2 separate regions of the Homo sapiens genome follow, and region 2 is linked to region 1. Evidence: promoter capture Hi-C in human tissues and cell types (Jung and others, 2019). All regions are on one chromosome and are shown on one strand. The core of a region is centred on a gene start or on the middle of the fragment in contact, and the rest is flanking DNA. Distances in the headings are between cores, read along the strand shown.

The links. The method cuts DNA at HindIII sites, captures the fragments that hold promoters and counts their contacts. A contact is called where the count stands out against the background at its distance.
Region 2: a contact is called between the fragment with the promoter of TMEM161A here and the fragment with the promoter of CERS1 in region 1, in 1 of the 25 tissues and cell types used here (lymphoblastoid cells).

Annotation. Positions count from the first base shown.
Region 1 is chr19:18,893,541-18,901,289 of GRCh38, reverse strand. CERS1 (ceramide synthase 1) reads left to right here and starts at 5,132. Exons shown (of 8, transcript NM_021267.5): 1 at 5,132-5,466; 2 at 7,715-7,749. The coding sequence starts at 5,218. It overlaps GDF1 (growth differentiation factor 1), which reads left to right and starts at 5,132. Exons shown (of 8, transcript NM_001492.6): 1 at 5,132-5,466; 2 at 7,715-7,749. It overlaps COPE (coat protein complex I subunit epsilon), which reads left to right. Exons shown (of 10, transcript NM_007263.4): 8 at 841-909; 9 at 1,343-1,417; 10 at 1,564-1,776. The coding sequence ends at 1,611. RefSeq lists a silencer at 6,082-6,131. The HindIII fragment of the contact is 24,852 bases long and covers 1-7,749 here.
Region 2 is chr19:19,134,702-19,142,450 of GRCh38, reverse strand. TMEM161A (transmembrane protein 161A) reads left to right here and starts at 3,973. Exons shown (of 12, transcript NM_017814.3): 1 at 3,973-4,025; 2 at 7,564-7,667. The coding sequence starts at 4,023. RefSeq lists enhancers at 3,566-3,755, 4,036-4,245, 3,730-4,591 and a silencer at 3,896-3,975. The HindIII fragment of the contact is 19,527 bases long and covers 1-7,749 here.

The sequences.
Region 1 (7,749 bases), core at 3,883-6,382:
ACACCTCTCAGGTGACACGTTCCGTGACTCACCAGTTAGATGACTCCCTTCTGTCCTTGTCTCTTGAAACACCACCTGGGGCTGGCTGGCCGTGCCCCTTGGCCCTGGTGGCCTCCCCGTGGCTGTGGTCACCCTGCATTCTTGCTGGGTTTTGGGAGGCACTCAGGTCCCCCCACTTCCCTTTGGAGCCACCTCATGGCTGCTCCTGTGAGCGCAAGCTGGTGTCCCCCTTCATGGTGGAGACTGAGGCTCAGAAAAGTCCGGTCTGCAAAAAGGTGCCCTGCCATGGGCCGCCGTGGGCAGGTCGGGCTCTGGGCGCATCCTCGTTGGTGTGTCTGTGCTCCAAGCAGACACCAGGGCTCTGGCTGGGTCTCCTGGCCTAGATGTTTCCTAGGGTCCTGTGTGCTGGGAGCCTAGAGTGAGTGAGTCAGGCAAGGTCCCCTGCCGAGGTCTCCTTCAAGGCTCCTTGGGAGCTGGTGCAGGGGTGGCAGGTCTGCCCATGGCCTCGGGGTTCGTTGTACAGCAGGAGTTGAGGCCATCTGGGTCTGGGCCCCATGGCTTTGAGATGTGTGGGACAAATACAACCTTCCCAAGTCTCTGTAAACAAGGGGTCGTACCCCAGGCTGGACTACAGATGGGGAAACTGAGGCTCAGCGAGGCGGCTGGCCCCTTGGCACCGTATCATCTGAGATCTCCACCTTGCAGAGCGGTGGGCGGTGTCAGTCCCACCCCACCTCTGAGGAGGTGACCTTGTGTGGTGCTGCCTGAGGTGGGGGTGACGGGCAGGCATGGGGGCTGGAGTGGCTGACCCTGCCTCCCCGTGTCTGCCTGTGTCTCCAGGATAGTGGCTACCCAGAGACGCTGGTCAACCTCATCGTCCTGTCCCAGCACCTGGGCAAGCCCCCTGAGGTAAGCGGCCCCCAGGGCTCCAGGCCAACCCTAATGTCCAGACCCTGGGACCCCAGCCTGGGGTCCAGGCCCTAATCCCTAGGCCCCTGGGAAAACTCTGTATACAGTATGCCTACCGCAGCCCACCTCCCTCACAAACCCTGTGCCCCCCAACCCATCCTCACCTGGGGCCCTGCCCGACCTGCTCCCCTGAACACCACAATACATCCCCCACCATGTACGGAGGCCAGCTCCATGCCAGCGCCTCTCCAGGGGGCAGGCCCATCCCTCCACCCCCACCCTGAAGGTTCTCCGAGATCAGCCCAGTCCCAAGGCAGGGTGAGGAGCCCCCTGGGGTACTGTGGCTCTCACCCCAATCCACCCCTGTCCAGCAGGTCAGAGCCACCGTGGGGTCCCCGTGTTCGGCTCACCTGCCTCCCTGCCTCCCCTGCAGGTGACAAACCGATACCTGTCCCAGCTGAAGGATGCCCACAGGTCCCATCCCTTCATCAAGGAGTACCAGGCCAAGGTGAGTGGTGGGGATGGCCTGTCCCCGAGAACCAGGCCAGGGGGCGCCTGGAGCTCAGCCTGGGCTCACATGCGCCCTCTCTCTCTCCCTCCACCTGTCTCCCCACACCCTGCCCCCACCCTGTGTTGCCATGTGTCTTGCTAAAGGAGAACGACTTTGACAGGCTGGTGCTACAGTACGCTCCCAGCGCCTGAGGCTGGCCCAGAGCTGTCAGGACCATGAAGCCAGGACAGAGGCCAGGAGCCAGCCCTGCAGCCCTCCCCACCCGGCATCCACCTGCATCCCCTCTGGGGGCAGGAGCCCACCCCCAGCACCCCCATCTGTTAATAAATATCTCAACTCCAGGGTGTTCCACCTGATGATGTGCTCTGGTCACTTTGCTGGGGGCGTGTGGGAGCTGACGCTCAGGGAGAGTCCTGGGGCACTGGCATCCAGGGCTGTTCCTGGAGACCAGGGTCTGTGACGAGCAGCAGGTGTGCAGACCCCCACCCCGCCCCTCACACAGCCACAACCTGCTCCTGCAGGCCAGAGGCAGCACAGCCCTGTCCCCATGCTTCACCCTGGCCCCTAGAGGCCACTGAGCAGCCCTGGTTGGCATCGGGGGAAACTGAGGCACAGAGAAGTCATGCCGCTATCATGAGGGGCACCAAGATTCAAAATGAGAACCCCTAGTGGCCTGGAGGAAGTGGGGGCCAGGGCAGGAAAAACTCAGGCCTCAGCTCAGCAAAGCCGGAGGGGCCCTGCAGGGTCAGCGTTAACCCCAGGTGCTGCTCCTGCCGCCCCGCAAACCCTCCTCCAAGGCAGAGTCCTGCTGTGGCAGGGTCCTGGGGCCAAGCACCCAGCCGCGATGAGAGGCGGCCGCACCATTTAGGGAGGGAGGTGGGTGGGTGGCAGCAGGGCTGGCCGGAGCCTCCCAGATGTCACCATTGAGCTGTGCCCACCCGAACAACAAAAAGGAGCTGCCAGGCTAGGTTCTAGGGGGACAGGCACCCTGGCAGTGGGCATGACCGGTGCAGAGGTCCCTCGGTGGCACAGGGCTGTGAGGTCAAGGGGCGCTGGATGGGGATGCATGCCCTTTGACCTCTGAGCCTGGCCTGGGCTTATCTCCCAGGGAAAAGATAAGACTGGGTTTCCCCAAGCCACACCCAGGCCTATTCATTTGAAACCAGACCCCGTCTCTGGTTGCCAGGGCAGGACAGCAAGCGACCCCCACCCCCAGCCTGGTAGGGGAGGGAAGTGGCAAAAGAGGACTCCCTGGACAGGGACATTAGGAGGGGTCCAGGCCGAGCTTTCTGGAGGGAGGAGACCTTGGGGTGGGTGGGGGGACACTGGCCTCAAGACTGACCTCCGCCCAGCCTTGGGTGCCTGGTCCCCAGCTGCCAGTAGAGCCGCCTTCCATTCCTGCCCTGCACCCACCCGTTGGCAGCCTCCTGGCTGGACCCGCCAAAAAGAAATTCGAGGCTGAGCTGGGGCTAGTGGGTGGGTGGGTGGCGCCTCTCCCGTGACCGATGGGCGCCATGGTGACCAGATAGTGCTGGCCGAGAGGGTGGAGGGAGGTGGCTGGGACTGTCCACGGCTGCCCCACAGGCCTGGCTGGACCTTTGAGAGCATATCCCCCTCGTCCCCCTCTGCCTGCCAGGCAGGTTGTGGCGTTAGTCACATCTCTGGCCTCCGGCTGGACCTGAACTATTGGCCAGGCCAAGCCTCGTGCCCCACCCCTACACTAGGCCCCTAGTCCACATGGAGTCCACGTTCAAGAATAAAGAGTGGGGCCAGGCACGGTGGCTCATGCCTGTAATCCCAGCACTTTGGGAGGCCAAGACAGGCAGATCACTTGAGGTCAGGAGTTCGAGACCAGCCCGGCCAATATGGCAAAACCCTGTCTCTACAGAAAATACAAAGATTAGCTGGGTGTGATAGCAGGCGCCTGTAATCCCAGCTACTCGGGAGACTGAGGCAGGAGAATCCCTTGAACCTGGGAGGCGGAGGTTGCGGTCAGCTGAGATTGCGCCACTGCACTCCAGTCTGGGCAACGGAGCAAGACTCCAACTCAAAAAAAAAAATGAGCTGTATGTATGTAGGGGCAGATGGTGACAAGTGCCAAGCAGACATGAAGACATGAGGGGCGTGTGACTTCAGAGTCGGGGGCAGCCTGAGCAGGTGGCAGAAGAGCCATGCAGGTACCTAGGGGAACAGCATTTCAGGAGGGGGGAACAGCTAGTGCAAAGGCCCTGAGGCAGGACAGAGCTTGGCATGTTGGAAGAACAGCAGAAAAGCCCACAGGCGGAGGGAAACAGGGCGCTGTGAGGGCAGCCAGTGAGGACTTGGGCTTTCCCTGAGTGGAACAGGAGCCATAGAGGGCTGCAAGCAGACGAGGAACAGGCCAACAGCGTCGCAGCCACCTTCTCACCTCTGTGGGGTGAGGAGGAAGCCAGGATACCAGACGGAAGAGGGTAGTGGTGGTAGTGGTGGTGGTGGCGGGGAGCGGGGGGCAAGGCTGTGCAGATGCAGAGAAGTGGCCAGATGCAGGGCCACCTGGATGTGTTGTGGGGGACTCGGTGTGGGGCAAGGGGAAGGTGTGTTCACCTGTGCCCCTGAAGTTCAGGTGCAGGTGTTCGGGAGCCAGCGCGGCTGCTGCAGGACTCATCCCTGCATCCTGCACCTTGAAGGCCAGGTGTGGGGACATCCTGCGGGCTAGGATGGAGGGGGGGTGCAGCAGTGCCTGGGGAGATGGCGGTCCTAACAGAGGTGACCAGTGTCTTCCTCGATGGCCTTCAGTGGCTTTGGGCACAGGGCCTTGTCAATGAACAGTGCATTGGAAAGTCACTTATGGTGGTCCCAATGATGTCACAGTCGATCCAGATTGGGAGTCCCTCCCACGTTGGCACCCACTCCTGCAGCCTCTCTGCAACTCATGTATTAACCTGATGTTGGGGAGCCCCCCCCCCGGGTTCCCCAGGGTCACAGCAGCAAGTGACCCTCAGAGAACCCCCTAATCTCAGCAGCCCCCATCACACCTTTGTCCCAGTAGCCCGCTGTGCAGACCTGCAGAAGAAGATGCCTGGGAAGTGCCCAGGGTACCCGCGTCCAAGCTGGAACCCCATTGCCAAGCTCCTGGTGTAGGGCAGAGAGCTGCGTCTCCACTAGGTGCGCCTCCCAACGCCCTGGCGTGGGCCGTGTCCTTTTGAAGAATGAGAATGTTTCATTGAGCCTACGCCTCCTGAATGCGGGAGGGCCACGGGATGGTCCCAAGACTGTGCCAAGGCGTGCCAGGCCTCGGGTCCTTGAGAAGGAGCGAGGGCTCCAAGAACGGTGAGGTCGGAGCGGGCCGGGGCGATGGAGCGGGAGCGGCGTGGCGTGCTGGAGGGCCGGGAGAAGCGGGGGTCGCCAGTCGAGGGGACTGCCTGCTAGTGTCCCCCGTGCCCCCCGTCACGGGCACGGCGCGGTGGGGTGGGGGAGCGGGGGGCGCGCGGGGCAGGCATGGGGGCGCGACACGGCGGTGCGCGGGGTCTCTCGGGGTCCAGGTCCAACGGGCCCCCAGCTCCGGCCCCCGCGCCTGGGTTTCTCTGCTGGGAAACGGGCAGGGGCGCGGGCCCGCCTCCAGGGCGCCCCGCGTCCCCGCTGGCCGCCCCCCAGCCGCGCCCCCAGCGGGGCGGAGCTTGCGCCGGTCCCGCCCCTCCGCCCTCCGCTCTCCCGCCCGCGCGCCCCCGGCCCAGCTGCGGCGCGTGACGCGGGGCGCGCGGCTCCGTCGGCTACCGCGGGCGGGCGCAGGCGACGGGCACGGCGGGCGAGCGGGCGGTATGGCGGCGGCGGGGCCCGCGGCGGGGCCGACGGGGCCCGAGCCCATGCCGAGCTACGCGCAGCTAGTGCAGCGCGGCTGGGGCAGCGCGCTGGCGGCGGCGCGGGGCTGCACGGACTGCGGCTGGGGGCTGGCGCGTCGCGGCCTGGCTGAGCACGCGCACCTGGCGCCGCCCGAGCTGCTGCTGCTGGCGCTCGGCGCGCTGGGCTGGACCGCCCTGCGCTCCGCGGCCACTGCGCGCCTCTTTCGGGTCAGTGTGGCCGGGGGCCGGGACGAGGGGACCCCGGACTGGGGGAAGCCGGGACCGGGGACCTGGGGCCGCCGGCGCGTTCCTTTCTTCCAGCGCTGGCTGCTGCGGATGAAGGGGTCGCCGGAACGTGGGTGGGGGCCTCGGGCTGGAGAGGCCCAGGACGTTGGAGCCCCAGGATAAGGTCTCTCGGGCCGCCGCGCGCCCCCTTCAGACAGTGCTGCGTGGGGGAACCGGGTAGATGCGGGGGTGTGGCCGGGCTGGGGTGAGTCTGGGACATGGGGGGCCCGAGACAGGTGGGATGTTTGAGACGTGGGGGACCGAGGCACGGCCCTTTCCGGTCAGTTTGGGACCAGGGGGCCCCGCGCGGTGGATGGCTCCGGCCACCGCGCGCTCTTTCCGGCAGGGCCGAGCCAGACACTGAGAAGCCCAGGACCGGGAACGGGAGGGCTCGGCGCACCGCGGCCTGCGCCATGCGCCTCCCTGCCATGCGGGCTGCGCCCCGGCCCGGAGCGAGGTCCGCTGCCCGTTTTCTGCTGGGTCCGTGCGGCGGCGGGGCCGGCTTGCCCGCTGTAATCGGGAAGAGGCAGGAGCTGCCCGGTCGCTGCCTTGTGCCTATCTGGGGTCAGCGCCACCCTCCGACCAGGGATGGCAAGGGCCTGGGTGCTCTGGCCACGCCAGTGGTCGCTCCCTTGGAGGTGACATGGCCCGGGGCTTCAGGGTTGGACTGTGCTGCCTCCAAGAGGCGACAGCAGAATTCCCCAGTTTCTGCGGAGACCATCGCCCCTGCGAGAGAGTGACCATGATGGTGACATTGGCGCCTGACCCCACTCACTTCCCTGGGGAGGGGTCGCTGTGGCAGGAGCTGGTTGGAAGGTGTTTGGGCCTTTAGCTTGGCCTGGACACCCCCGTGGACCAGCTGGTGTCACCCCGCCCGTCTGGCTGGAGGGTGCAGGGACAATGTGCCCAGCGCCAACAAAGGGGCCTTTCTCTGCTGGCCGGGAAGAGGCTGGCCCTTGTGAGGTCGATGATGGGATGTTGTCTGACTGCCACTCTCCCCACTCCCGTCCCCATATCACCCACATGAGGGAGAGACCCCAGCCACACCCCTACTGTGGGAGGGGGAGACAGGGCTGTCCAGGGCCCCTCCCTGGGTCCGCAGTGGTCTTTATCCTGCTTGTTGCCCCTGCCTTCTTCCCAGTTTCCAGCTGGGAAGCCCGAGACCCAGGAGGGCAAGCCGTCCCCCACCCCTGCGGGACAGGAGGATGTGGCGGCTGGTAGACTACCAGGGCCGAGCCCCGGGGGCCCTCCCCAGCCCCTTGGGTGGGGTGCTCGCCCCATTTCGAGGCTCGCCCTTCCTCAGAAATGGGTGGAGGGGCTGCCGGGTGTTCCAAAGCTGATCTTCTTGGCAGCAGCCTGGTTGCCAGGGGTTACCGGAGCCGGCTCCAGCTGTCTCCATGACAACTGCTGGGTGCTCTGGGCTCCGGCCCCCTCAGCCTCTGGGAAGGGGGTGGGACTTGTCCAGGGGTGGGGCTTGGCCGGGCAGCTCTGGAGCCGCGCCCCGCCACCCACCCACCCACCGCACTCCCCAACCCCTGCCTTGGAGCCAGCAGCTTCCTCTGCACTCCCAATGTCCCCTCAGGGTCTCACCTCGCCTGTGACACCTTTTCCGCCTCCTGTCCCCTTTTTCTGCCTCCAGCCCCTCCTCCCCTTTCATCGCCCCCAGGTTCCCATGTCCCCGCCACACCTTCCCCCTAGTCTCTCCCAGCCCTCTAGCCTCTCCAGAATCTCCCACTGAGGGGGCGGCTTCCTCACAAGTTCTTCCTCTCCCCTCTGTGTCGGTCCCATGGGGCTCTCTGTGTTTCCCAAGATGCCCCCATATAACCCCCTCCATGTTCCCTTCAAGGGTCACCCCCACCAGCCCAACTCCCTTGGGCTGACGCATCCATCCGTCTCCCTCATCGTAAGCCCAAGTGTCCCCCTTCTGGCCCCCAGAGCCCTCCTGCTCCCCTCGGGGCCTCCCCCCTCACTCCCCTCCCAGCACCGCGGCGGCCGGACAGCTGGGCACTAAGTTTAGCCTTGGCAGGCGCCTGTGGGCTCTGTTTATGCTCCAGGTGGCTGTGGGCATGGGGGACAGGCCTTCCCAGTGCTGCCCGGCCTGGGGAGTCCCTGGGCCTCAGTTTCCCCACCCCAAAGGAGCAGTCTCTGGCCCCCAGCACCAATGGCTGCCCGCCTGTCTTCTCCCCCATAGCCCCTGGCGAAGCGGTGCTGCCTCCAGCCCAGAGA
Region 2 (7,749 bases), core at 2,724-5,223, 240 kb before region 1:
GCCTTTTAAGGGATAGGGAGACTGGACAAAGTATATAAGTGACAGAACCCGGAGGGGGCACTTGTTTATACGGCGGAGTATAGGATGCCATCTGCACCCCAGACCCCAGCTAAGGTTTGTCCTACGTCATCTTCGCCACCCTCATCCCCAGTGAGGTGGGGGCTTTGGGGCCCCAGTTTCCAGGATAGGGATATGGCATGATCAAAGTGTGTAAAAGCCCCTCCCCAGGCTCCCGTGGCAGGGGGCATTGGGAGCTGAGGGGAGGCAGTGCCCCCTGGAATGATCACTCTCTGTGTGTGCGTGGAGGCAAACCCACCAGGACTCCAGAACGGCTCGGAGGTGGAGGTGAAGGGAAGAGCGTGCCGTGGGTGACTGGAAGCTCCCATTTCATCCTCTGTGCTGTGGAAGCTTGTAGGGAATGAGACTTGGATGGGGTGAACTTGAAGCCTCTGCAGAGTGTCCAAGTGCGGCTAGAGATTTCGCTCACCCAACCCAGACTCAGGTCTTTTTTCTTTTTCTTTTCTACTTACTTATTTTTATTATTTTGTTTTGTTTTTGTTTTTTGTTTTGAGAGAGAGTCTCGCTCTGTCATGCAGGCTGGAGTGCAATGGCACGATCTCGGCTCACTGCAGCCTCTGCCTCCCAGGTTCAAGCGATTCTCCTGCCTCAGCCTCCTGAGTAGCTGGGACTACAGGCATGTGCCACCATGCTCAGCTAATTTTTTGTATCTTTAGTGGAGACGGGGTTTCACTATGTTGGCAAGGCTGGTCTCAAACTCCTGACCTCAGGTAATCCACCCACCTCGGTCTCCCAAAGTGCTGGGATTACAGGTGTGAGCCACCGCTCCTGGCCTAATTTTGTTTTTATTATTATTGGGTTTTTTTTTTTGTTTTTTTGTTCTGAGACAAAGTCTCACTCTGTTGCCCAGGCTGGAGTGCAGTGGCGGGATCTCGGCTCACTGCAGCTTCTGCCTCCCGGGTTCAAACGATTCTCGTCCTTCCCAAATAGCTCGGATTACAGGCGACTGCCACCACACCCGGCTAATTTTTGTATTTTCAGTAGAGATGGGGTTTCACCATGTTGGCCAGGCTGGTTTCAAACTCCTGACCTCAAGTGATCCTCCCACCTCAGCCTCCCAAAATGTTGGGATTACAGGCATGAGCCACTGCGCCTGGCCTATTTTTTTATTTTTGAGGCAGTGTCTTGCCCTATTGCCCAGGCTGTACTGCGGTGGTGCAATCATAGCTCTCTGCAGCCTTGATCTCATGGGTGCAAGCAATCCTGCCTCAGCCTCCCAAGTAACTGAGACTACAGGTGCACACCACCTTGCCCAGCTAGGCTGGAGTGCAGTGGCAAGATCTCAGCTTACTGCAACCTCTGCCTCCTGGGTTCAAGTGATTCTCCTGCCTCAGACTCCCCAGTAGCTGGGACTACTACTGGGACTACAGGCGTGAGCCACAACGCCTAGCTAATTTTTGTATTTTTAGTAGAAACCCAATAGGGTTTCACCATATTGGTCAGGATGGTCTTGATCTCTTGACCTTGTGATCCGCCCCCCTTAGCCTCCCAAAGTGCTGGGATTACAGGCGTGAGCCACTGTGCCCAGCCTGCCCAGCTAATTTTTGTATTTTTTGTATAGTCTGGGTTTCCCCATGTTGCCCAGGTTGGTCTGGAACTCCTGGGTTTAAGTGATCTTCCCACCTTGGCCTCCCAAAGTTCTCGGATGACAGGCATGAGCCACTGCACCCAGCCTCTTTTTTTTTCCTCGTCATGTTGCCAGGGCTGGAGTGCTGTGGCATGATCACGACTCACTGCAGCCTCAAATTCCTGGGCTCAAGCAATCTTCCCACCTCAGGCTCCTGAGTAGCTGGGACTTACAGGCTTGAGCCACCACGTTGGGCTAATTTAACTTTTTTTTTAATTTAATTTTTTTTTAGAGATGGGTGTTTTGCTGTGCTGCCCAGGCTGGTCTCAAAATTCTGGGTTCAAGCGATCCTCCAGCCTAAGCCTCCCAAGTAGCTGGGACTACAGGCATACGCCAAGCCACCATGCCTGGCTGGACTCAAGTCTTCAACACTTCCCACCTGGTCCCTTCTGTCCCTTCCCCACTCAGGAGGGGTGAGCCACGGTCCTCATGGCAGTGATCAATGGCTGTGGAGGTCCAGCTGAGCATGCAGCTCCTGCCACCTCCAGCAGCGCCACTGCTACATGCACAGATGATGCAAACTCTTCAGCCAGTTACCCACCCTTCTGTTCTGAGGACCTCCCCGACAATGATCCTGGCCTTCCTTCCACATGGGCTGAAGACCTACCTACTCACTGGCACCCCAACCCCGCACATCCAGACCAGGGCCAGGGACTGAGCAAGAGGAAAAGGGTCAAGGTAGCGGGTACCCTGGGGGAAACTGAGGCATGGCCAGAGAGAAAGAGCCTTCCCAGCCTTTGGATCTCACCCTCACGGTGGACAAGAAGTCAGGCCAGTCCCTGATGTTAGTGCCCACAGGCTAAGCACCCAGTGTGAGGTCCATAAAACTATGGGCCGCTTTCTAAGGCTGGGAGCCCCCAGGGCCACAAGTGAGACTGGTTTGACTTCTCCATCCCAGGGAGACTGCGCTTTTGCCCTCCACCACGAGGTGGCGTGCGATAGTGCGCTTAGGATTCAGCACTTGCCAGCCGAAAGTTAAAAAAATAAAATATAAACCAGGCCCGGTGGCTCACGCCTGTAATCTCAGCACTCTGGGAGGCCGACGTGGGCGGATCACCTCAAGTCGGGAGTTCAAGACCAACCTGATCAACATGGAGAAACCTCATCTCTACTAAAAATGCAAAATTAGCCAGTCGTGGTGGTGCATGCCTGTAATCCCAGCTACTCGGGAGGCTGAGGCAGGAGACTCACTTGAACCCAAGAGGCGGAAGTTGCGGTGAGCCAAGATCACACCATTTCACTCCAGCCTGGGCAACAAGAGCGAAACTCCGTCTCAAGAAAAAAAAAAATTAATACACAAATACATAATAAAATGTAAAAACGAAAAGGTAATTACTCAGGCCCCACACACAGGAACCCACCCCCATAAAGATGCTCAGACACTCAGTCATACCCAATATATGTCTACACTCAGGCAGACACACTCATCCACAGAAAGACAAATGGCAAAACCGGGGCACAAACACCAGAAGCCCTTTCCTCCTAGCGGTGAAATAAAGAACATCAGATCCCTGAAGCTGACATTTGGTCCTTGATCCAGCCACGCCTGAAGCTGACACTATGGCTAGTATTTTCTGTCACATGAGCCAAAAATTTTCCTTTTTTGCTTGAACCCATGTTAGTTGATATTTTGTGGAGCACAGCCAGAGTCCTAGCTGATAGAGATGAATAAGGCACTTGCCAGGTGAAAAAGATTGAGGCATTCTTTTTTGCTTTTGTTTTGTTTTTATTTTAAGATTGAGGCATTCTTGAAGGCATTGCAAGATGTAGGATATTTACAAAGGCCTGGAGGTATGAGACAGCATGGTGGGTGCAAGTTGTACTATAGGGTGCACAATAGTGCTAGCAGCAGATTTAAGTCAGGCAGAAGGGTCTGAATTCAGTCTGAGTACTTAGCCTACTTAGTACTTAGGAGTACTAAGTACTTCGTCTACTAAGTGGGAGCCATTGAATGTTCTTGATGGGGGGAGGGAATTCTACTCTCAGAAATGTCCCTTAGGTGGGAATAAATGCTTTCGCTGCAAACCTTTGAGATAAGTGTAGGAAAGAGAAAACTAAGCCTTAAGAGAGGTCGGCCACGCAGGCCTCCCAGACACAATCTTCACTTTGATCGATCCGAACCAGCGTATCTGAACTACAATTTCCGGCATGCAACGCGAGCGGCCTCCTCGTCCCTGGTGATTTGCCGGCTCAAGACACACTGATTGGTCGGACGGGATGCTCGTCAGACCAGAGTCGGGCTCTAATTGGTCGAGTTTCCGCAGAGTGCCCGGAGCCCTAGGCCGGTGGGTGAGTGCACCGCGTTCTCGCACGCGTCATGGTGAGCGAGCGTCCCGCGAAGTGGGGGGTTCTGCAGGGCCGAGGTCCAGCCGAAGGGGTCCAGGGAGACACTGAGGGAATGGATTGGGGTTTCTTCTTGGGGATTGGAGGCTCTGAGGGATTCGGGGGCACGCTGAAGGCCGTGTGTCCCTCTCTGGGAGCCCTGCTCTCGCTACAGGACCTCCGAGGGAGTCGGCGGGAGTTGTACCCAGGGGGACTAGAAGCCCCTAAGCGTTCTGGGGATTCTGCCCTCGAGACCTTTTAGGGGTCTGGGATCCTTTTGAGGGGTCGTGGTCCCACAGAGGGGACTGGGGACCCCAGCACATTTGGAACCTGGTTAAGGCGGTGTGGGGTCCTGTTGGGGGTCCACTCTGGGGACGGGGGTCCTGCAGGAGCGTGGGGGCCGCGCCGACAGGATCCATCGGGGGTCCCTGCTATATCGGGGTGTGTGGAACGGGCAGGGGAGGCCGTGGGAGGTGGACTCAGGAGGTCTGGTTGGCCTCAGGGCGGGCAAGGTTCTCAGAGTGGGAGACAGGAAAGTTGGAACCTTCAGGTCTCACGCGGCTCTGGGTCCAACCTATTGAGTGTGTTCTTAAAACTTAGCCCAGCCCCTGGGGGTCAGGCTGGTGCAGGGAGATGGGGGACTCCCACAACCCTGACGGGACCGGCCTGGGCAGAGAGAGGGACGTGGAACTGGAGGGTCTCTGCCTGGGACCATCCCCGAGGAGGGGCGCTGGAGATGGCCCTGAAGGAAGGGCACTGATGGCCGGAATTATTGAAAGTGGGGCGTCGTCCCAGGCGGAGGTGCAGGACGCCGTAGGAGATGAAGGCACAGGCTCCCGGGAATGAGGAGGGAGGCTGCATTGATTTTATCAGGGTTCTTGAGTTCGAGAATCGTAAATCCAGTGAAGGGAAAAGAAGGAGCTGATGGAAGACTCCAGAAAATTCTTGCAGATGTCTGCAGAGCCCTGACCCTGAGACAGGAGGCTGGGTGGAGGGCAGGGCCATCAGAACATCCCTGGACAGACCTCTGGGAGCCTTAGGTGGAGAGATGCACCCCTCCACCACCTTTTCCCTTGGGGGGTTTTGGGGGGTGGTGGGGTCATTGATGAAGAGCCCAAAGGTCCAGGAAGACCTCTGAGACTCCAGTGGTTGGGTGCAGGGAGGGCTGAGGAGAGAGCTGAGCTGTGGGGAGGTGGAGGGATGGTCTCTAGCTATGCCTGCAGGGTGCAGAACCAAGTTGGGGGCTGACTGTGAGACTGGGAAGGGCCTGAACCACCTGGAAGGGTATGGGATGATGGGTGAGTGCTAGGGTCTCCCAGGAGAGCCTGGAGGAGGCTACTGGTTGAGCTCAGCAGAGAGGTCTGGGCTGGAGGTGTCACCGTGCTGAGGTTTTGATGGGCTGGCTGATTGGGTGGTTAAAACCCTGGCAGGTCACAGGAGAGAGGTCGGAGAGAGAGGAGAAAAACAGACTGGGGGGTGGGAGGGCAGGGTCCTAGGGGAAGGGTGGGGCTTCAACAGCCCTGACCCACTGGCTTGCAGGGGCCCATGGGCTGGCACTCATGGTCCCTAAGTGCCAGCCAGCCAGTCTGCACTAGGGTCCCGGGGAGGGCGAGCAATGAGGACTTAGAGATGAGAAAGATGCCGCCACCAACCTCATTACTGAAAAAAGATTTCTGGTCTCAGTTTACAAGTCACAGGTACAGAGAAAATGTCCTATTAGTCTGTTATTTTATGTATTTTTATTTTATTATTATTATTATTTTGTTTTGAGACAGAGTCCCACTCTGTTGCCCAGGCTGGAGTGCAGTGGCACAATCTCGGCTCACTGCAACCTCTGCCTCCCAGGTTCAAGCAATTCTGCTGCCTCAGCCTCCCAAGTAGCTGGGATTACAGGCGCCCACCACCATGTCTGGCTAATTTTTGTATTTTTAGTAGAGACAAGGTTTCATCATGTTGGCCAGGCTCGTCTCAAACTCCTGACCTCAAGTGATCAGCCCGCCTCAGCCTCCCAACATGCTGGGATTACAGGCACGAGCCACCGCACCTGGCCTCAGCAGTCATTTTGAATTACCGTGCTAGGCCCGGTACCCATCACATTAGGGTTTTTCCGACTAAATTTAGCTTATTTATGCCTGATTAAAGGATTATTTTCATAATTAATTTTACTATTAAATAAACTTTATTTCATTTTGATGATAATTCCAGAACACTAGTAGACAGCTCTCCTGAGCACATAATTTTACATAATTATGTAATTACTGGCAGCAAATGGGTATTTACTGCATTCAAGCAGGAAAACCCAGCTTCACCACAGACTGATTCTTCTAAAACGTTTAAAAATAAGTATATGAAAATGTGTTCTGAATTAAGAACTGGGTGAGAAAATTCCTAATTAAAAAAAAAAAAAGCCTTAGCTGGGTGTGTTGGCACATGACTGTAGTCCTAACTACTCGGTAGGTTGAGGTGGGAGGATCACTTGAGCCCAGGAGTTTGAGACCAGCCTGGACAACATAGCAAGACCCCATCTCTAAAAATAAAAATAAAAATAGGCCGGACACAGTGGCTCACGCCTGTAATCCCAACCGTTTGGGAGGCCAAGGCAGGAGGATTGCTTGAGCCTAGGAGTTCAAGACCAGCCTGGCAACATGGAGAAACCCTGTCTCTACAAAATAGACAAAAATTAGTTGGGTATGGTGGCGAGTGCCTGTAATCCCAGCTACTAGGGAGGCTGATGTGGGAGAATCACTTGAGCCTGGGAGGTTGAGGCTGCAGTGAGCACCCCAGCATGCCACTGCACTCCAGCCTGGGTGACAGAGCAAGACCCTGTTCTCCCCACCACTCCCTTGCCAAAAAAATAAATAAATAAATAAAAATAAATAAGCTCACCCCACTCAGACATGTAGGTCTTCACACCAAAACAGGAGGTGGCCAGGAGCATAGACGCCCTTTCAAGGAGGTTAATTACAAAGGGAAGAAGAGGGAGGAGGGTGATGGAACCATCAGGGATCACTTAAGGTGGGAGACACTTAGGGGAAGGAGCTACCAGGTGAAGGAGAAAGCTAGAAGCTCAACCGAGACGCAGTGGCTCCCTAGGTGACAGTGTGGGGTGCAGAAGGCGGTGGGAGCCGCTTTCACTGAGTGTGGCGGGCTCGTGGTTAGGGGCTGGAAGGTGGTGGTGAGGAATACAGGAGACTACATAGGAAGCACCCATTTCCAGATGAGAAAACTGAGACTCCGGGAAATTAATATTATACCTGAATCCATAGCGGAGGCGGGAGGCAAATCCCATGGTCTCCACTGCCCTACACTCCCGCTAGGTGGTGAGGGTGGGTGTTGATCTCTGACGTGGGAGGGCAGGGCCATGCTAGGTGAGTCCAGACTCACCCCAGGACTCTCCCCTAAGAAGCCGCTAGAGCCTAAGAGGCTCGCCCTTCCCCCATCCAGCCTGACTTCTCTATAAATAGCCTGGGTTCCTAGGGAGGGAGGGAACTTGTGACCCTCTGGCAGGTGCTGCCAGTCATGTCCCCTCCCCCCAGGCGGTCCTCGGAGTACAGCTGGTGGTGACCCTGCTCACTGCCACCCTCATGCACAGGCTGGCGCCACACTGCTCCTTCGCGCGCTGGCTGCTCTGTAACGGCAGGTGAGCCCCGCCCCGGCGGTGGGAGGGGCCCGCGGAGTCACGCCCCCTTCTGGCTCCCCACGCCCCGCCTCACAAATTGCAA